Linked DNA regions of Homo sapiens: all the other regions are linked to region 4. Evidence: promoter capture Hi-C in 16 types of primary human blood cells and fetal thymus (Javierre and others, 2016). All regions are on one chromosome and are shown on one strand. Each heading gives the region's core, a stretch centred on a gene start or on the middle of the fragment in contact. The rest is flanking DNA. Distances are from core to core; before and after follow the strand shown. Region 1 overlaps CHCHD5 (coiled-coil-helix-coiled-coil-helix domain containing 5). Region 2 has its middle 7.9 kb from the start of IL36G. Region 3 overlaps LOC124907869 (a long non-coding RNA gene). Region 4 holds the start of CKAP2L (cytoskeleton associated protein 2 like). Region 5 has its middle 32 kb from the start of IL36G. Region 6 overlaps TTL (tubulin tyrosine ligase). Region 7 has its middle 11 kb from the start of IL36G.

Region 1 (2,886 bases), core at 17-2,516, 170 kb before region 4:
ATATAGCAGAATGGCGCGTTCCCTGCCTCCCATGACACTTCACCACAGCTGACTTTTTCACATGGCTCAGGGCCAAGGTCATTGCCCAACACCCTTCTCCCTCCAGACTGTGGGCTCTGCAGGGTCTCCCTCTGTGGTGTCTACATAGGCTCCCCAGGCTGGGCACAGAGGAGGTGCTACTAGATGTTGATGTACTTTCTCCACAGGCACAGCCACTTCCTGCCTCCTGAGGACTCCTCTGACGGCAGGAAAACTGGACATGAATGACTGCCCCCACGCCCCTCCCCTGCAGAGTGGCCAGATGGAGTCCTGAGCCCTGGACATGGGCCCGGCTTTCCTGGATATCAGGACTTCCAATAAATAAAGACTCTGTATACTGGGCTTTGATTCCTGCCATCCGTACCTGAGAGGGTCCTAGGAGAGCTGGCTGGGCAGAGTCATCTGTTCCCCAGCTTCACCGGGTGTGCCAAGGAAGTGCCTGGGAAGAACAGGACTCTGCAGCTGTGCCCCAGGGTTGAGACTACCCTGCCTCCCTTGTGAACTCTGCCACACAGCCATTTCCTGACTTCTGCTGCATGTGCCTGGGGTAAAGACCCTCAATCCCTTCCACTCTAGCATTCCCCAAATTGTTATTTTTTTTTAATATATATATTTTTTATTTTATTTTTATTTTTATTTTTTTTTGAGACAGAGTCTCGCTGTCGCCCAGGTTGGAGTGCAGTGGCACGATCTCGGCTCACTGTAGGCTCCGCCCCCCGGGGTTCGTGCCATTCTCCTGCCTCAGCCTCCCTAGTAGCTGGGACTACAGGCGCCCGCCACCTCGCCTGGCTAATTTTTTTTTTTTTTTTTTTTAGTAGAGACAGGGTTTCACCGTGTTAGCCAGGATGGTCTCGATCTCCTGACCTCGTGATCTGCCCACCTCGGCCTCCCAAATTGCTGGGATTACAGGCGTGAGCCACCACGCGCAGCCTATATATATATTTTAAAGACAACGTCTTGCTCTGTTGCCCAGGCTGGAGTACAGTGGTGCGATAATAGCTTACTGCAGCCTCGAACTCCTGGGCTCCAGTGATCCTCTGCCTCAGCCTCCACAGTAGCTAGCACTACCGTAAGCACTTGACACAGTGCCTGGCTGCATTCTCCAAATCTGTTTTCAGTTTTCTGGAGGCTTGGGGGGTGATAAATAATATGCGTCTTTCCCTGCTGAATTCAGAATCAACTGGGCAACAGAGGCATTAGGCAATGGAGATGAAAATACTGGCTTTATTATTGAAAACAACCACATGGAAGGATGTATGGCTTAGAAGGCCATGTACTGGATTTCTTTTCTTTCTTTCTTCTTTTTTTTTTTTTTTTTTCAAGACGGAGTTTCACTCTTGTTGCCCAGGCTGGAGTGCAATGGCGTGATCTCGGCTCACTGCAACCTCTGCCTCCTGAGTTCAAGCAATTCTCCTGCCTCAGCCTCCTGAGTAGCTGGGATTACAGATATCCGCCACCATGCCTGGCTAATTTTTGTATTTCTAGTAGAGATGGGGTTTCACCATGTTGGTCAGGCTGGTCTCAAACTCCTGACCTCAGGTGATCTGCCCGCCTCAGCCTCCCGAAGTGCTGGGATTACAGGCACCGGCCGCCATGCCCGGCTAATTTTTGTATTTCTAGTAGAGACGGGGTTTCACCATGTTGGTCAGGCTGGTCTGTAACTCCTGACCTCAGGTGATCTGCCCACCTCAGCCTCCCAAAGTGCTGGGATTATAGGTGTGAGCCACCGCTTCTGGTCTATGCACTGGATTTCTGTTCTTAGTTTCCAGTTTTCCAGAAGCCAACTCAGAATTTGAGTGCAGATGGTAATTTGAATTTGATTCCAGAAACACTGATAGAGGAATGGAGAAGGGAGACAATAGAGAGGAAGGCAGCCAATAAAAGGTGCATTATCAAGCGAGTTACCACTCTGGGCAACTGGGACTCAGTCCCACTGGGGACCTGTGGGGGACTTTATAGAACATAACCCAGTTACCCTATCAAGGAGCAAGGGAATTGTGTTATCTACCAACTTCCCATCTGTCATTAAGGGGTATTTTCATGGGCATTGACTGGTACTTCTGGCCTGCCCTTTATAGGCCAAGTTCACTTCTGCCATCAGAAGAGGGCCGTAAGCAGAGTATAATGGGATCAAGTGAGCAGCCTTAAACCTGCGGAAGAGATGCTGAGTGGATCTGGGCAGGTACCAACAGTGGCTGCTGTGGCTTCTTCATGCTTCTCAGGAATACAGGCTCCTGCTGTTTGATACAGGCTCCCCAGTAGGGACTGGTCCTAAAGAATAGAAAGCAGACAGGCGTGTATGCAATAGAGGAGGAGACCCCAGAGTGCTGAGCTGAGCATGCCCATGGCCTGCACCCACATTCACCATTCAGACGAGGCCCTCCTCCCTGGAGGTGATCCCAAACCTCTGGAAATTGGAGTAACTGGCCATTTGATACCCAAGGATTATGCTCGGCTTGGAAGAATGAGCCTGGCCTATGGGAGTCTCTCCTAGGGATTAATCTCCAAGACAAAGGAAGTTGTTCATTGGTTTAGGAGCCGGGTAGAAATCCTGTAAGTTCAGGGTTGCAAGATTTTATACCATTTGTCTGAGCTAGGAGGAAACCCAGGTAGTGGAGAGAGAATTGTGATCAGTTCCTGTAACCTGCCACAATCCCTGGTGGACTGAAGAAAGGGTGGCGAATGCAGGAATAAAAGACAAGAGACAAAAGAGTATATTTGGAAGAAGGGGTCAGGGGGCACCTTGCCTCTAGTGGACAAGGGCCCTGAGCTTTACACAGCTTTCTGTATTTATTAGGCAAAAGAGATAGCGAGAAGGCAGGTAGAAGAAGAGGTCAGCTTGTCCAG
Region 2 (2,942 bases), core at 249-2,748, 210 kb after region 4:
ATGATAAACACCCTGCCATTTGCTACCACTTACTTGTGTGAACAAAGTTTCTTATTGATGGTGGCATCTGAAGAATTTGAAGAGATAGATCATGGTTTAAAAGGCTTGATTAGACATTTTAAGTGTCAAATCTGTTTTAAAATAAATATCTCACAGAAGCAAGCTCAAGTTTCTCACTAAAAATTTAGAAAAATATTTGGAATATTTATATAAATTCAATATTTAGTGCTTTCCATAATACTTTGTATTTTAATTTTAAAAAATTATACATTTTTCCACAAAACTTATATAACCATTCTTGAATCCCCTCGAGTTTTCCCCAATGTTGAAACAATGCAAAAAGTTGGGGAACATTGGCCTTTGAGTCTAGAACCCAGCCCTCTGGGTCTTGAGAGCAGAGGTGAAGACCTCTTTTTGTGAATTTGTGAGTAACCTTGGATGGTTACATTGAGTAGGAGAAAAAACAGAGGCAATGATGTTAACCACTGTGGACTCCAGACCCTTCCTCAGTTTTCCAGTGGTAGAGAGAACCTCAGTGATGACTGAAATTTACCTTCTCTTTTATAGGTTGGTCACTGTGGGGGACTGAGTGAGCAGACTTAATTTGATTTAGGTAAATGAATGTGACATTTCTTACAGCTGAATGTAAAATGTAGTAACACTACATTATCATGGTGGCAGGAAATAAAGTGCAGGTGGATTGTAGGGCAACAGGAAGTCAAGTGCTCTGGTGACAATGGTGATTTTACAGATGATGGAGCCAGCTGGCTTCTTTGGACAGGTTTGGAGACCATGCAGGAGAGAAAGACAAATTAAAAACTGTGAATATCTCCTTGAGAACAAAGTGGACAATCAGCAAAACTTCATGGCGGAAGGCATCCCTCATTTCTTGCAGTTCCAGGGAAGAAATAAATGAAAACGAAGCTTAGTGCTTCCTGCTAAGGGCTACAGTTGTACAGGACCGATTAATCACTTAACCTGCCAGGTTTGTTATGCCGAAGTCAGGGCACTGATGGGGAAGGAGTTGACTCTGAGACACCATATGGGGACGTTTGATCAGGCATATATGAGTTGAGAACTTTGAACCTTCGTATGTCCTTGAGGCTCCATTGACAACTGAGGTAGACAATCACTCTCCTTTCCCACTGCATGTGAAGCATTTGAGTGTCTGCACCTGAGCCAAGTTGCCTCACAGGCTAATAAGAGGTCTCCTCATGACCCCCATGGAGCACTGACAGGGAATTTACAAGGCTACTGTGAAAGGAAATGGCCTAAACTCCAAAAAGTTAAAGAAACTCGTCAACCGGATATTGTTCATGGAAATATATTCTAAATGTGTTCAACCAAGATTGGGCTGAATTTGTCAATAAGGGTGGGCCCATCTGGGATTTGGGATGCAATGAATTGATTTGAGTACCTGGAGGTAATGTTAGTTTATTGTCTGCTAGGTTGACTAATGGATGCTTAGATATGGTGGTGGTTTACAGTCAGTAAGGCTGAAATACTATAATTTCTTCGACATAATGTAATGATCCTTAAAATTGGAGCTTTAAAAAACATTGATGCTTGAGTGACTCCCTGGAGATTCTTATTTAAGTGGTTTGTGTTGCCATGTGGACAGAGGGATTTAAAGAATGTCCTTAGGTGATTTTCACATGTTGCTAAGGTTGAGTGATTTCTGTAAAGGAAAATCAGGGATGAAGATGCTGGAGTACATCTATTATGTGCAATCCACATAGCTGTCCATTAATCACACACCTCAGGATGACCAAGGGACTAAGAAGAAATGTATTGGCGAGGGGCACACCGGCATCCAGGAGAGCTCACTGGTAGCTTCCCTCTCTAGGCTGGAGGTGATGGTGTGGGTGCTGCAGCAGGTTTTCAGCTTTGATAGGAATTAACAGGATTGCAGAGTGGAGGAGGCCAGATGGTGGCACCTCTCATCATAAACAAGGTGAGTGAAATGATCACAGTTAACCACAGGGGCAGGATACCAAATAGAGTATTTGAACTTCAGGACCCCGTGGCAATGACAAATTCATCTCAGGGTCTGTAGAAATGAAATACATGGAAAAGCTTCTAAGGTGCTGCTTAACACATATGGGAGGAAGATTTTTAGGTCTGGTGTACAGAAAAGAACTCAAATTACTGTGGTGGAAATGTATAGCTTTTTACCCAATTTCCAGGTCTAAGGAAGATCGAAGCCCTGGATTCCTAAGATGAAGGCCAGGTCCATTTGAGGAGGAACTTTGCATAGTGGCATGTTATGGTCTGAATTTTGTCCCCCCTCTTAATTCATACGTTGACGCCCTAAACCCTACTGTGATTACTTGGAAATAGGGTGTTTCAAGGGGTAATTAAGGTAAAATGAGGCTATAAAGTGGGTCCCTAATCCAATGTGACTTTGCAATGTGAGGAAGAGACACCAGGGATGCACACAGGGTCATGTGAGAACAGAGAGAAGGCGGCCACCTGTGAGCCAAGGAGAGAGCCCTTAGGAGACACCAAAACTATTGACACCTTGATCTTGGACTTCCAGCCTCCAGAATGGTGAGAAATGAAGTTCTGTTCTTTCAGCCACCCAGCCTGTGATATTTTGTTATGGCAGCCTGAGCAGACTAATACATGGTGACTGGTATATAGTAAGAATCTTTCTCCAAGACTTTGCCAGACATACTTATGGCCATTTATCAGGGCTATGCAGTGGGAGAGCGAAATAGTATCTGGGGGTTTCAGATACTGCCTCTGTATTGATGGAAATCTCCAGGGGCAAAAAAATGCCACAATGGTCCATCAATCACAGCAGAGGATTATAAAGCAGAGGAGACAGATGAACTCTGGGACTGATTTTGTCTAAAGAGGCAGCCTGAGATTATTTCTTTGGGCTCAAAATGTACAGTGCAACAAGATAAATTTAGTGACTGGCAGGATGTCCACATTGG
Region 3 (2,700 bases), core at 139-2,638, 160 kb before region 4:
TTCCCTTCCTTTCCCTTCCCTTCCCTTCCCTTTCCTCCTTCTCCCTCCCCTCCCCTCCCCTTGCCTCCCCTTCCCTGGCCTCCCCTTCCCTTCTTCTCCCTCCCCTCCCCTCGCCTCGCCTCCCCTCACCTAACCTCTCCTCCCCTTGCCTCCCCTCCCCTCCCTTTGCCTTCTCTTGCCTTCCCTTCCCTTCCTCTTTCTTTTGACAGAGTCTTGCTCTGTTGCCCAGGCTGGAGTGCGGTGGTGTGATCTCATCTCACTGCCTCGGCCTCCTGAGTAGCTGTGATTACAGGCATGCGCCACCATGCCCAGCTTCTTTTTTTTTTTTTTTTTTTTTTTTTGTATTTTTAGTAAAGACGGAGTTTTCCCCATGTTGGCCAGGCTAGTCTCAAACTCCTGACCCCTAGTGATCTGCCTACCTTAGCCTCCCAAAGTGCTGGGATTACAGGCATGAGCCACCGTGCCTGGCCCAGCCAAGTGTTTTCTAGTCTGCAGCTATACTCAGAGGAGGGCAAGGCATGGAGTCTCATGCTTACCAGAACCAGGGAAGCAGGTGATAAACTGGCTCGGGAGAGTTCTGAAGAAGACTGCCCATCTTGAAACCGCCTTTGCCAAAATTATGGGGAATTATGACAGTGAAATAGATCAGACCTAACTGACTCCATCTTGCTTCTAACCTCTAAACTGTCCTTATCCATTCCTGGGCATAGGCCGAACTAGCCTTGGGAAGGAATTTAGTTTATAGTTTAAATAACAGCCCTTCCCAAAAGCAAATCTGTTCTTGTAAAACGAATGAAAGGCCACCAGCCACCAAGTTAGGATGAGAGGGGCTGGAACTCTAAATATTACCAGCTGTTACGTGGAAGGTCATGAGATTTGCAACTTCCCTGATTACTCTTGAAGATAACATCACCATTGTGAACCTGAGATTGGCCTTTTGAGATGTCTTTTCAGGTTTTTCCATTTCTGACAAGTGGTTGGCCTCACCTGGACCTGCCAACCAGTTCTGTGGCACTCACCCAGGAACTGACTCAGCATAAGAGGATAGCTTCGACTGCCTATGAGTTCATCCTCAAGCCAACCAATCGGTGCTCCTGGCTCACTGGACCCCTACCCACCAAATTATTCTTAAAAACCCTGATCCCTGAGTTTTCTTTTCTTTTCTTTTTTTTTTTTTTAATTATACTTTAAGTTCTGGCAAACATGTGTACATCGTGCAGTTTTGTTACATAGGTATACACGTGCCCTGGTGGTTTGCTGCACCCATCAACCCGTCACCTACATTAGGTATTTCTCCTAATGTTATCCCTCCTCTAGCCCCCGACCCCCTGACAGGCCCCGGTGTGTGATGTTCCCCTCCCTGTGTCCATATATTCTCATTGTTCAACTTCCACTTATGAGTGAGAACATGTGGTGTTTGGTTTTCTGACCTTGTGATAGTTTGCTGAGAATGATGGTTTCCAGCTTGATCCATGTCCCTGCAAAGGACATGAACTCATCCTTTTTTATGGCTGCATAGTATTCCATGGTGTATATGTGCCACATTTTCTTAATCCAGTCTATCATTGATGGACATTTGGGTTGGTTCCAAGTCTTTGCTATTGTGAATAGTGCCACAATAAACATACGTGTGCATGTGTCTTTATCATAGAATGATTTATAATCCTTTGGGTATAAGCCCAGTAATGGGATTGCTGGGTCAAATGATATTTCCAGTTCTAGATCTTTGAGGAATCGCCACACTGTCTTCCACAATGGTTGAACTAATTTACACTCCCACCAACAGTGTAAAAGCATTATTTTTCCACAACCTCTCCAGCATCTGTTGTTTCCTGACTTTTTATTTATTTATTTATTTTTTTATTGAGACAGAGTCTCGCCATCTTTCCCAGGCTGGAGTGCAGTGGCACGATCTCAACTCTTTGCAAGCTCTGCCTCCTGGGTTCACGCCATTCTCCTGCCTCAGCCTCCCGAGTAGCTGGGACTACAGGCACCTGCCACCACGCCTGGCTAATTTTTTTGTATTTTTAGTAGAGACAGGGTTTCACTGTGTTAGCCAGGATGGTCTGGATCTCCTGACCTCGTGATCCACCCACCTCGGCCTCCCAAAGTGCTGGGATTACAGGCTTGAGCCACCGTGCCCGGCCTGTTTCCTGACTTTTTAATGATCGCCATTCTAACTGGCATGAGATGGTATCTCATTGTGGTTTTGATTTGCATTTCTCTAATGACCAGTGACGATGAGCATTTTTTCATGTCTGTTGGCTGCATAAATGTCTTCTTTTTAGAAGTGTCTGTTCATACCCTTTGCCCATTTTTTGATGGGGTTGTTTGCTTTTTTCTTGTAAATTTGTTTAAGTTTTTTGTAGATTCTGGATATTAGCCCTTTGTCAGATAGATAGATTGCAAAATTTTTCTCCCATTCTGTAGGTTGCCTGTTCACTCTGATGGTAGTTTCTTTTGCTGTGCAGAAGCTCTTTGGTTTAATTAGATCACATTTGTCAATTTTGCCTTTTGTTGCCATTGCTTTTGGTGTTTTAGGCATGAAGTCTTTGCCCATGCCTATGTCCTGAATGGTATTGCTCAGGTTTTCTTCTAGGATTTTTATGGTCCTAGGTCTTACATTTAAGTCTTTGATCCATCTTGAATTGATTTTTGTAAAAGGTGTAAGGAAGAGGTCCAGTTTCAGTTTTCTGCATA
Region 4 (2,700 bases), core at 139-2,638:
TCTAACCCTGGAGCTCACAGCCACTGTTCTCAGCTACAACAGTCTGTTTTGAAGAATTTCTGTTACTGGCCCACCTGAGCTGGTGAGCCAGGCCTGGTCTTACGTCTTTTGTTTTTTTACAGGGATGATGATTTTTACCCACAAACCCTTATATGGCTTCCTTTGTTGGTACTAAGGATAAAATACGCCCGGTCTGCTCACGGCAGACACCTATACTATGGTGACTTTCTACGCAAGCCATTTGTGAGGGGATGACAAGTCAATAATTTCTGCCTTCAAGAACTTTCAAACTAGTAGTGGAGATAAAATCAACACAGCAACAATTACAGTATAAGGTAAAATCTAAGGGCCATAAGAGACGAAAAGAAGTATGGGAGTTCAGAGGTAGGGCATAAATGAGGGGAGTAGGTGGCTAGAAAAGGTTAAAAGTAAATAATGATGTGAAGGAAGACAAAAAGACGACAGGGGTGCCAAACGACTCTTAACCTCATCTGAACGGAGTTGCCCTGTTTTGCTCTCTGATGCTCATGTATCTATCCTTAGAGACAGCTTGGCGGGCAATGTAGAGCGTAGGGGCTGACATAGGGGGTTGGAGTCCCACCTCCGTGACTTCTAGCAAATTAGCAAACTTTGCTGCTGCTAAGCCTATAAGGCGGACAGAAATGCCATCTTTAAAGCTTGTTATGTAAAGTGCCTAGGACCTCGTAGGCATCAACAGGAATAATGGATGAAACAAAACAACGGTGCGTATCTTGGAGAAAGTGGCATCTGAGCAGGAGTATTTTGAAAGGTAGGAAAGGGCTCCAAGCACATCTAAGAGATTAGGGAACGCAGAAGCCTTAGCCCTGGGTGCAGATTTAACCAATCAACTTCTAACCACCGCAGGCTGAGAGGTGTGGAGTGAGAGCCCCGCCAGAGGCAGGAGACCCGGGCTTCGGCCAGACCCCGCCTCCTGGCACAGAGGACCACGCCCGGCTCTGCCTGGAGCCAAATGTGGATCAAAACAGCGCGCAGCTTCCCACTGCTGGTGAAAACCCGAGCAAGGGGCCTCAGTTTCTTTATCCGGAACGTGGTGACAATGACATCTCTTTGCAAGGCTGCTGCAGGGCTTTCTGGAAATACGCCCGTGAGGTATCTGGGCCTGCGCACAGCCTCCCCCGCCCAGGACCCAGACGTCTACCTGGGGGTCCCGTCTGCGCTCCCGGGATGGAAAACGCCCAGGGGAAACTTAGGCAGGCGAGCGGACGGGCACCTCCCGCGGGACGAACTCACTCGGTGGCCTCCTACTTCCCCGGCCGTGTTCCAACGCCTGAGAATAACGGGAACAGCGGTCGTACTCACCGACAGCGGCAGCAGCGGTAGGCCCGGGCCCCACCATGACTCTTCAGTGACAGTTTTTCTTCAAACGCCGCGCCTGTAGCCAGGACCGGCGTGCCGCGCGTCCACGCGTCCTCATTGGCTCCTGCGGGTTTGAAACTCGCTAGTCGTCAGCACGGGAGGGCGGGACAACAGGCAATAGGCTCTTTGCGGTTGGCTCTGGCCTTGAGAACCCGACCTTGGGGCCCTTTGATTGGAAGAACGTGCAGCGCACCTCGGCATTGAGGGCGGCTTCCTCGGGGCGCGGCGCCGCCCGCCTCTGAGTGCGCCTGTGAGTGCGCCTCCGAGTGGGCGTGGGACCCTCCGTGGGGGCCTCAGCCGGGCTGGTGGTTGGGGGGCGGTTACGCTGAATCCAGCTGGGGTTGGCGCGCCGGGAGTCCCTGGGCGGAGAGACAGGGCGGTCCTCCCAGGATGCTGGGGCCGCTACCTGATTCTGTCCTTTCAAAGTCTCAGACTCACAGGAGCTGTGAAAAAATAATATTATAAAGAGGACATATGGGTCTTATGCATCTAAAGGCTCCTAGTTCTTAGTACTGCAGGGTGGCTCGTTTAATTGTGGTAAAATATGCATAACATCACATATACCATTTTAACCATTTTAAAGTGTTAAATTTTTCAAAAATGTGCAGTTTAGTGGTATTAAGTACCCTCACATTGTGGCACAGCCACCACTACTGTCCTTTCCAGAACTTTTTCATCTTCCCAAATGAAACCCTGTACCCGTCACTAACTCCGCACTCCTCCCTCCCCCAGCCCCAGGCAATCACCATTCTAGTTTCTGTCTCTATGGATTTGACAACTGTAGGTGCCATATAAGTAGAATCATGCAGTATTTGTTCTGTGACTGGCTTGTTTCACTTAGCATAAAGTATTCAAGGTTCATCCATGTGTAGCATGTGTCAGAATTTCCTTTCCTTTTAAGGGGGAATAGCATTTCGTTGTGTGGAGATGCCACATTTTGCTTCTTGGTCCATCCCTCTCCGGACACTTGAGTTGCTTCCACTTTTTGGCTATTGTGAATAATAATATGAACATGAATGCACAAATAACTCTTTGAGACTCTCCTTTTCATTCTTTTGGGTATATACCACGAAGTGGTATTGTTGGATCAAACGGCAATTCTATTTTTAATTTTTTGAGAAACTGCCTTACTCCTCTCACGGTGATCTCTTGTTCAAGGTATATTTTCGATTTCACCTGATCAGCTGACTATAAGGCCATAAGGCTAACGGAGAAACGCAGGCCTAGTTTCTCCTAGTTACTAGGAGATCGCAGGCCTCGTTGTCCTGAATCCCTAGACACACTTCATTCCCCTTGTTTTAA
Region 5 (2,700 bases), core at 133-2,632, 180 kb after region 4:
ATTTTGTGTAATACAAGGGTCTAATTTCTTTCTTTTGCATGTGGATATCTAGTTTTCCCAACACCACTTATTGAAGAGACTTTCCCCATTGTGTATTCTTGGTACTCTTGTCAAAGATTAGTTGACTATACATGCACGGGTTTATTTCTGGGCTCTCTATTCTGTCACATTGACCAATGTGTCTATTTTTTTCCCAATGCCATACTGTTTTGATTACCACAGCTTTGTAATATAGCTTGAAATCAGGGCATGTACTAGGTCTTTGAAATCTGCTGTGTGTTTTATTCTCAGAGCACATCTCAGTTTGGACCAGTCTCATTTAAAGTGCTTGATACTCACCTGTGGCTAATGGCTGCAATGTTGGGAAGCACAGTGTTAGACTTTTGCAGAGACTGCAGACAGACAATTTTCTGTTTTTTTTTTTCCACCTTAGTTAGAGAGACAAATGAAAATATAAACTCACACAGTCCTTGCATTACCACTACAGTCCTAAAACTGGCCCAGGGCAGACACTTGGATGTTGTCATTTCTTTCCTCAGCTCTGCGAACCCAGCAAAGAAAAGCTTTCAGTCTTCAATTGTCCCCATTCCTCACCTAGTGGCTTGTATTTTCACAGCCAGAGTGGAGGGGCTGGGGGAGACAGATAAGACAGCAGCTTGGCCAGCTCTTGGAAGATGGAATATGCCAGTGGAAAATGGTCAGACTGTTTATATAAAATAACTCTGATCCACAATCTGCAGAAATCAGCTCAGGAAACCCACTTATTATCCACAATAGCCAACCCAGGAAGCCTATTACCAGAAAGTCAGACTTGCAGGAAGTGAAGACCACTATTTCTAGCAAACAATCCAGGGAGCCAGTCACTCCTGTAACAGTCAGTCAAAAATGGCCAACACTTGATTAATAACTGACAACTGCCCTAAATTTTTTGTTCCCTCTTCCAATGTAGGACCAACCAGAGAAAGCCAAACATGCTCCTAATCAATCACACAGGAGTCCCCATTTCTAGTTAGCCACCTGCAACTCACCCACATCTACAGCTGCCACTCAGGGCATACATGAAGACTTCCCTTCTTTCTGCTATGAGGCTTTCTCCCCTGCTTACTTCTGAGTCTCTGCCAAGCAAGTGATGGTTGCCGACTCCCTTGTCAGAGCAAGCTCTGGATAAATAGTCTTTGTTTGTTCTCATTTGGGTGGTCTTTGTTTATTTCCACACCCAGCAGAGGTTAGAGTTGAAACCTTTACCCAACTTTAGGCATCCATCCATCTCTACAACACAGGCCTCACCCCTCCCCCAGCCAACAGCCTGATGTTTTTCAGCAGGTGGGTTCCCCTTCCCTTGTCAACCCCACCTGTCGTCTCAGCCTCCCAGAAGACTCACAGTCAACTTGAGACCATTTGTTTTTGGACTTCACTTTCCCTAGTCATATTCATCTCCTGGGTTGGAGCCATAATTACCCTAAACACGGGCTAAGCTGGAGCTGCTCCATGCCTCAGACTGCCATTTCATTGCATGGCATGGCCTTCATCAAATGATTCCATCTGACATTTTAAAGAGAAAATTGAAGCCAGCAGGTGAGCACAGCCTCACATTTACCACCAAACCTTCTTCCTGAACCATCTTGGCATCTGTCCCTCCTCCCTCCCTCTTGCTACACTGGGGGAGGTCCTTCTTCTGTTCACAGACGGCTTCTGCTCTGGATTCTGAGTCCCAATCCTCTCAGCCTTCCCAGGACCTTTACACCATGTTCTTCTCTTCTGAATATTGGGTGCTCCTGTCTGAACTGGATCCTTCCTGTAGAAATTTAAAGCTCAATGCTTCTCATAGTTAAAAACAACACAACAACAGTATCTCTTTACCTATGTTCTTACCTGAGCTGTAGTCCTGGCTCCCCACCCCTTTCAACCCAGGTGTGAAGAGTGGTTTCTGCTGTCTTAGTTCCTTGTTGCTGCTCACTACTGGCCTGCCCTGTGCCCTCCTTTTCACTTGCTCAGCCTTGGTGAGGGGAACCAGCTGAGGGAGAAGAAAAGGAAAAATCTGATAGGTAGACAGTTAAGGCTAGTCTTCAGAGAAGCAGCCTGCCTGAAAAATCATAGCTACAGGCAAAAATAGAGCAGCCTGGGGAAAACTCAGGCTGCACCTGAATAGATAAGCGGCACAGAAGCCTCTTGTTCTTTGTACGATCAGTGAGCTCCCAGAGAAAGCTTCCTCCACTTCTCAGATATGCACATGGTGGGCTCCATGGGAGCTTACACAGGGAGGGGATGGGGGCTTGCCTAAAACAAACCCACAGTTATACAAACAAGAGAAGCTACACTTTATGCTTACCTGGAGACATCCCACAGCTGCATAGATAAGGGAGAGTTATACAGACAGTTTTATAGGTAAGAGAAGTTACTCAAACAGCTGCAGATATGAGAAGAGTTTCTTATAAAAGCTTTTGGATTCAGCTGTCAAAGTGGCAACCCACTCAGACTCCCCTCTCCACTGCAGAGAGCCTTCTTCTTTCACTTATTAAATTTTTGCTTCAACCTAACCCTTTGTGTCCATGCTCCTTAGTTTTCTTGGTCGTGAGACAATGCATGCAGATAACATCTGAGACAATAAGACCTTTGACCCTGACCTGTTTTACAGCCACTCTCTTTAGATACACACAGTGGATGTTTTCACATGGACATTCTCACATGACTCGACCTCCT
Region 6 (2,700 bases), core at 62-2,561, 230 kb before region 4:
AGAGTGGACAGGCCCAAAGCCTTTGGAAGACTTCTCTTAAAGACTGGTCCCACTTCCTGTCAGTAGCTACACCTCCTTCTTAACCTGAAGTTCTCCCATAACCCATATTTTAGAAGTGTTTTCCCCAAAGCATCCCTCCATATCTTAGTCTATTTTGTATTGCCATAACAGAATGTTACAGAGAAGTGTATGTGGCTCACGGTTCTGGAGGATGAGAAGTCCAATATCAAGGGGCTATATCTGGTGAGGGCCTTCTTGCTGCCTCAGCATGGCAGAAGGCATCACATGGCAAGAGAGGAATGGAGTCTAACTCACCCTTTAACTAGCAACCCATTCCTGTGATAACTAACCCACTCCTGGCATAACATCATTAATTTATTCATGAGGGTAGAGCTCTCGTGACCTAACCTCTTACAGGTCCCACCTCTCAACACTATTGCAGTAGAGATTAAGTTTCCAACACATTTACTTTGGGGAACACATTCAAACCATAGCAGTCCCTGAAGGCAAAGGAAAATGAACCCCTCTCCAATGCAATACATAGTAGCAGAACTTGAAGATTGTTGCAAGCATAATTCCTTTCAAAAATTATGAGAGGACATCAGTGGGCATAATAGAGTAACAACCTCTGAAAACCCTCTCTTCCATAAAAGCAATGAGAACACTAGCAAAACTGTCTAGACATTAACCAGAGGCTTGCAGCAATCCATTTATTCAAGAAAAGGCCTGTAATCCCAGCACTTCGGGAGGCCAAGGCGGGCGATCACGAGGTCAGGAGATGGAGACCATCCTGGCTAACACAGTGAAACCCCATCTCTACTAAAAATACAAAAAATTAGCCGGGCGCGGTGGCAGGTGCCTGTAGTCCCAGCTACTTGGGAGGCTGAGGCAGGAGAATGGCGTGAACCTAGGAGGCAGAGCTTGCAGTGAGCCGAGATCACGCCACTGCACTCCATCCAGCCTGGGTGACAGTGCGAGACTCTGTCTCAAAAAAAAAAAAAAAAAAAAAAGGAAAGGGTTGCATCTGGGTAAGAAAAGCAAGCTTTCTGACATTTTAATGTACCCTATTCCCACTCCCCCTTTCCCCAGCTCCACAACAGCCTCGGCCACACAATCATGCTGACATCCAGCAGCAGAGCAGCCACCGTAGGGCTCAGAAGGGGATTGGAACTCCTCCAAAGCTTCATTACCAGAGAATTGCCATTTGGCCTTTTTGGTAGTTCCATGTAAGTCCCTACTCCTAGGTCTTGTCTTTATTTGATGTGACTAAGAGGTTACCCAGTGTGAACAACCTTTTCCCTGGGTGCATTTGTCAAAAAAAATCAACAGCAATTGTTGAACATCTCAGCTTCCTAAGGTGGCTGTAACAGTTGGAACAAACAAACTGACCAAAAGACTTAGAAGGAAAAACTGGGAATGAGATTTCTATAGGACGTTTTGAAAAGCTTCAACCTATTCCTAAGAATGCAGAAGGCCACACACATGTGTAGGACTGTGCACATGCCCAGAAGAGACCTGAGAATTCCCCAGCTCTTTCGTCTGACCTTAAGTGTCTGCACAAACAGAGAGGACAGAGGCAGAAGGAGGGAAAGAGGGAGGGAGGAAAGGTAGGAAGGGGAGAAAGAGAGAGGAAGAAAGAGAAAGGAAAGAAAGGCAGGCAGAAAGAAGGAGAAAGGGAGGGAGGGAGGGAAAGGAGGGAGGGAAGAAAAGAGAAAGATTGAGAAAGAAAAAAGAGAAAGAAGAAAGAAAAGAAAAAAGGAAAGAAAGTTAGTTTATAAAATAGAACCAAGTAGAAATTTTAGAGTTGCAAAGTACAAAAATGCAAATGAAAGATTTACTTGAGAAGTTTAAAAAATGTGTGAACTGGTAAAAGAAGTAATCAGCAAATTAGAAGTCATTTGAGATTATCCAGTCTGTGGAACAGAAAAAAAAAATCAGCAAAGAAAAATGATCAGTGCTTCAGACACCCGTCAGACACCATCAAACATACCAACATACACATAATAGGAGTCCTAGAATAGATAAGTGAGAGAGAGGGAAGGGGATAAAACATATACTGGAAGAAATAGTGGCCAAAACCTTTCCCACTTTGAGGAAAAACATTAAAGTGAATCCAAGAAGCTCAACAAATTCTAAGCAGGAAAGACTCAAAGAGTCCACCTCAAGACACACCAGCCACTAAGTAAATAATTTTAAATATATAGTAAAAAATGACAAGGAAACAGAAATGTTACACTAGAAAATATATAAGAAAAGAGAAGGAAGTAATGAAAAATAGAGGAGAAAAAAAAGGCAAGAGGCCTAAAGAAACCAACAGTAAAATGGTAGATAAATCCTGCCTTATCAGTAATTTCATTAAATGCAAATGAATTAAATACTCCAATCAGAAGGTAGAGATTGGCAAATTGATTTTTTTTAAAAATCATGATCCAACTATATGCTATCTACAAAAAACACACTTCATTTTATTTTTATTTTTATTATTTAGAGACAGAGTCTTGCTCTGTTGCCTAGGTTGGAGTCTAGTGGTGTAATGATAGCTCACTGCAGCCTCAAACTTCTGGTTTCAAGTAATCTTCCCACCTTAGCCACCCAAGTAGCTGGAACTATAGGTGCCTGCCACCATACTTGGCTAATTTAAAACAATTTTTTTAGAGATAGGACCTGGCTTACTTCAAAACTTACCTGGCTAATTTCACT
Region 7 (2,857 bases), core at 298-2,797, 220 kb after region 4:
AAAGTGATACGCCATTGTGATTTTGACTTGCATTTCTCTGATTAGGAATATTGAGCATTTTTTCATATATCTATTGGTCTTTCTTTTTGTGAAATGTCTATTCAGGTATTTTGCCTGTTTTTCAAACAGGTTATTTATTTATTATTATTATTATTTGCAACTGAGTTGTTTAAGTTCGCTATGTATTTTTGATATTTACCCCTTGTCAGATGTATAGTTTGAAAATATTTTCTCCCATTCTGTAAGTTGTCTCTTCACTCTGTTGATTGTTTCCTTTTCTATACAGAAGCTCTCTTGTTTGATATAGTCACACATTTGTTTATTTCTGATTTTGTTTTTTGCCTTTGATTTTGAGGTCTTATCCAAAAAATCCTTGCTCAGACAATGTTTCTCCTATGTTTTCTTCTAGTAGTTTCATAGTTTCAAGTCTTACGTTTAAGTATTTAATCCATCTTAATTTTTGTATATGGTGAGAGATGAGTCAATTTTATTTTTCTGCGTGTGGATATCCAATTTTTCTAACATCATTTATTTATTATTTTTTATAATAATAATGACAATTATAGCATTTACTACAATGACTTTTAATACTCTAAGGTGCATGTGTGTGTCTCTGTTTTAATATTTTACAAATTGTCACAAAGGCACTCAACCCCATAGAAGACGTAGTATTTTTTAGTGTAAAGCAATTTTTGTAGTCTTGACAAAAATCATTTAAAATTCTGTCACAAAGCAAATTAATTTCCTATTTCATGAATTAAAAATGAAAAGAGACTACAAAAAGCTTTATTTGTTTTAAATCATGTTTCCCTTCTTTTTTGGGGACAAAACAATGTCTACTTTAATTAGGTAAATCTTCCTCAGACTTTGATGTTGTATCATAGCATATATCATAATCTTACCCACTATGTTTAGAGATTGTTTTTTAAATTAAGTGTGTAATAATGCCCACACCTTTATTAACTCTGTTTAGCTGCATTAGTTATGATGATGCTAAAATCTCTCATATTTCATTTTTTCTTGATGTCATTTCATCAAACCATTAAGACTCATGGTTAAAATATAATAAATATATAATAGAGGCATATGTTTATTTAACACAAAGCTTGTTGTTAGTATCATGTTCACAGTGGTGGGAGCCATGACTAATTCATCAGTGTTCCCAGTGCCTTGGCAGTAGGTCTTCACCATTAAATCTCATGTTGTAGAATTACTTTATCACTTGATTTAAAAAGAATCATTTGCTTAATAATTTGCTTAGAGTAATGTTTGCTATTAGTGTATAAAAATGCTACTGTTTTTTCAGCAAAGACTTGGGACTAACTTAAATGTCCATCAGTGTTAGACTGGATAAAGAAAATGTGGCACATATACACCATGGAATACTATGCAGCCATAAAAAGAATGAGTTCCTGTCCTTTGCAGGGACATGGGTGAAGCTGGAAACCATTATTCTCAGCAAACTAACACAGGAACAGAAAAGCAAACACCACATGTTCTCACTCTTAAGTGGGAGTTGAACAATGAGAACACATAGACACAGGGAGGGGAACATCAGGCACTGGGGCCTGTCAGGGGATGGGGGGTAAAGGGAGGGAGAGCATTAGGACAAATACATAATGTGGGGCTTAAAACCTAGATGATGGATTGATAGGTGTGGCAAACCACCATGGCACATGTGTGTAACAAATCTGCATGTGTATCCCAGAACTTAAAGTTAAAAAAAATGCTACTGTTTTTTGAACGTTGATTTTGTAACCTGCAACTTTATTGAATTAGTTTATTAGATCTAACAGTTTTTTTTCGATGTTTAAGATTTTTAGTGTATAAGAGCATGTCAAAAGCAAACATGGACAATTAACTTTCTCCTTTCCAATTTGGACGCCCTTTATTTCTTTCTTTTGTCTGGCTCTGGCTAGGACTTCCAGTACTATGTTGAATAGAAGTGGTGAAAGTGGGCATTCTTTTTTTCTTCCAAATCTTAGAATAAAAGCTTCAAACTTTTCCCCATTCAGTATGATGTTAGCCATGGGTTTGTTGTATATGGCCTTTCTTATGTTCAGATACATTCCTTCTATACCTAATCCATTGAGAGTTTTTATCATGAAGAGATGTTGAATTTTGTCAAATGTTTTTTTCTGCGTCTTTTGAAATGATTATATATTTTTTCTTTCATTTTGTTAACGTGGTATATTATATTTATTGATTTGTGTGTATTGAACCATCCTTGCATACCTGGGATGATTGGCTATGGTGAATAATCCTTTTAATGTGCTATTTGAGTTTGGTTTGCTAGTAGTTTATTATGGAATTTTGCATCTATGTTCATTAGCGATGTTGGTCTGTAGTTTTCCTTTTTGGTGGTGTTCTGGTCTGATTTTGACATCAGGATGATGCTGGCCTTATGGAATGAGTTTGAAAGAATTCCACTCTCTTCAACTTTGTGAAATAGTGTGAAAAGGCTTGGTGTTAGTTCTTCACTAAATGCTTGATAGAATTAAGGAATGAAGCCATCAGGCCCTGGGGTTTTCTTTGATGGAAGAGTTTTAAACTGCTAATTAAATCTCCTTCCCTATTGATCTGTTCAGTCTTTTTATTTCTTCATATTTCAATAGTGGTAGGTTTTATGTGTCCAGGAATTTATCTATTTCTTCAAGGTTTTCCAATTTGTTGGCATATAATTGTTCATAATAGTCTCTATGATTCTTTGTATTTCAGTGGTATCAGCTTTAACATCTCCCTTTTCATTTCTGATTTTATTTATTTGAATATTCTTTTTTTCTTAGTCTAGCTTACAGTTTGCTTATTTTATTTATCTTTTTAAAAATCAGCTCTTCATTTTGTTGATCTTTTTTAG

What was found. Contacts are between HindIII fragments. The CHiCAGO score rates a contact against its expected background, and 5 or more counts as called.
Region 1: a contact is called between a fragment that was not itself captured here and the fragment with the promoter of CKAP2L in region 4, in 1 of 17 cell types (neutrophils). The highest score is 5.0, in neutrophils.
Region 2: a contact is called between a fragment that was not itself captured here and the fragment with the promoter of CKAP2L in region 4, in 1 of 17 cell types (M2 macrophages). The highest score is 5.6, in M2 macrophages.
Region 3: a fragment that was not itself captured here is called in contact with the fragment with the promoter of CKAP2L in region 4 in 2 of 17 cell types (monocytes and M1 macrophages); the score reaches 5.7 in monocytes.
Region 5: a contact is called between a fragment that was not itself captured here and the fragment with the promoter of CKAP2L in region 4, in 6 of 17 cell types (megakaryocytes, endothelial precursors, M0 macrophages and 3 more). The highest score is 12.0, in megakaryocytes.
Region 6: a fragment that was not itself captured here is called in contact with the fragment with the promoter of CKAP2L in region 4 in 1 of 17 cell types (fetal thymus); the score reaches 5.1 in fetal thymus.
Region 7: a contact is called between a fragment that was not itself captured here and the fragment with the promoter of CKAP2L in region 4, in 1 of 17 cell types (M1 macrophages). The highest score is 5.4, in M1 macrophages.

What each region holds. Positions count from the first base shown.
Region 1 is chr2:112,588,660-112,591,545 of GRCh38, forward strand. CHCHD5 (coiled-coil-helix-coiled-coil-helix domain containing 5) reads left to right here. Exons shown (of 4, transcript NM_032309.4): 4 at 207-381. The coding sequence ends at 230. Among named protein-coding and RNA genes, the nearest start is that of CHCHD5, 5.5 kb to the left of the region's middle. The HindIII fragment of the contact is 3,880 bases long and covers 1-2,886 here.
Region 2 is chr2:112,968,592-112,971,533 of GRCh38, forward strand. No RefSeq gene overlaps it. Among named protein-coding and RNA genes, the nearest start is that of IL36G, 7.9 kb to the right of the region's middle. The HindIII fragment of the contact is 1,152 bases long and covers 923-2,074 here.
Region 3 is chr2:112,607,220-112,609,919 of GRCh38, forward strand. All of the region lies in intron 1 of LOC124907869 (a long non-coding RNA gene), which reads left to right. Among named protein-coding and RNA genes, the nearest start is that of CHCHD5, 24 kb to the left of the region's middle. The HindIII fragment of the contact is 4,928 bases long and covers 1-2,700 here.
Region 4 is chr2:112,763,221-112,765,920 of GRCh38, forward strand. It overlaps CKAP2L (cytoskeleton associated protein 2 like), which reads right to left and starts at 1,389. Exons shown (of 9, transcript NM_152515.5): 1 at 1,342-1,389. The coding sequence starts at 1,378. RefSeq lists an enhancer at 1,019-1,158 and a silencer at 1,609-1,768. The HindIII fragment of the contact is 4,243 bases long and covers 676-2,700 here.
Region 5 is chr2:112,944,942-112,947,641 of GRCh38, forward strand. No RefSeq gene overlaps it. Among named protein-coding and RNA genes, the nearest start is that of IL36G, 32 kb to the right of the region's middle. The HindIII fragment of the contact is 1,642 bases long and covers 562-2,203 here.
Region 6 is chr2:112,533,336-112,536,035 of GRCh38, forward strand. It overlaps TTL (tubulin tyrosine ligase), which reads left to right. Exons shown (of 7, transcript NM_153712.5): 7 at 1-2,700. Among named protein-coding and RNA genes, the nearest start is that of POLR1B, 7.8 kb to the right of the region's middle. The HindIII fragment of the contact is 264 bases long and covers 1,180-1,443 here.
Region 7 is chr2:112,987,571-112,990,427 of GRCh38, forward strand. No RefSeq gene overlaps it. Among named protein-coding and RNA genes, the nearest start is that of IL36G, 11 kb to the left of the region's middle. The HindIII fragment of the contact is 888 bases long and covers 1,104-1,991 here.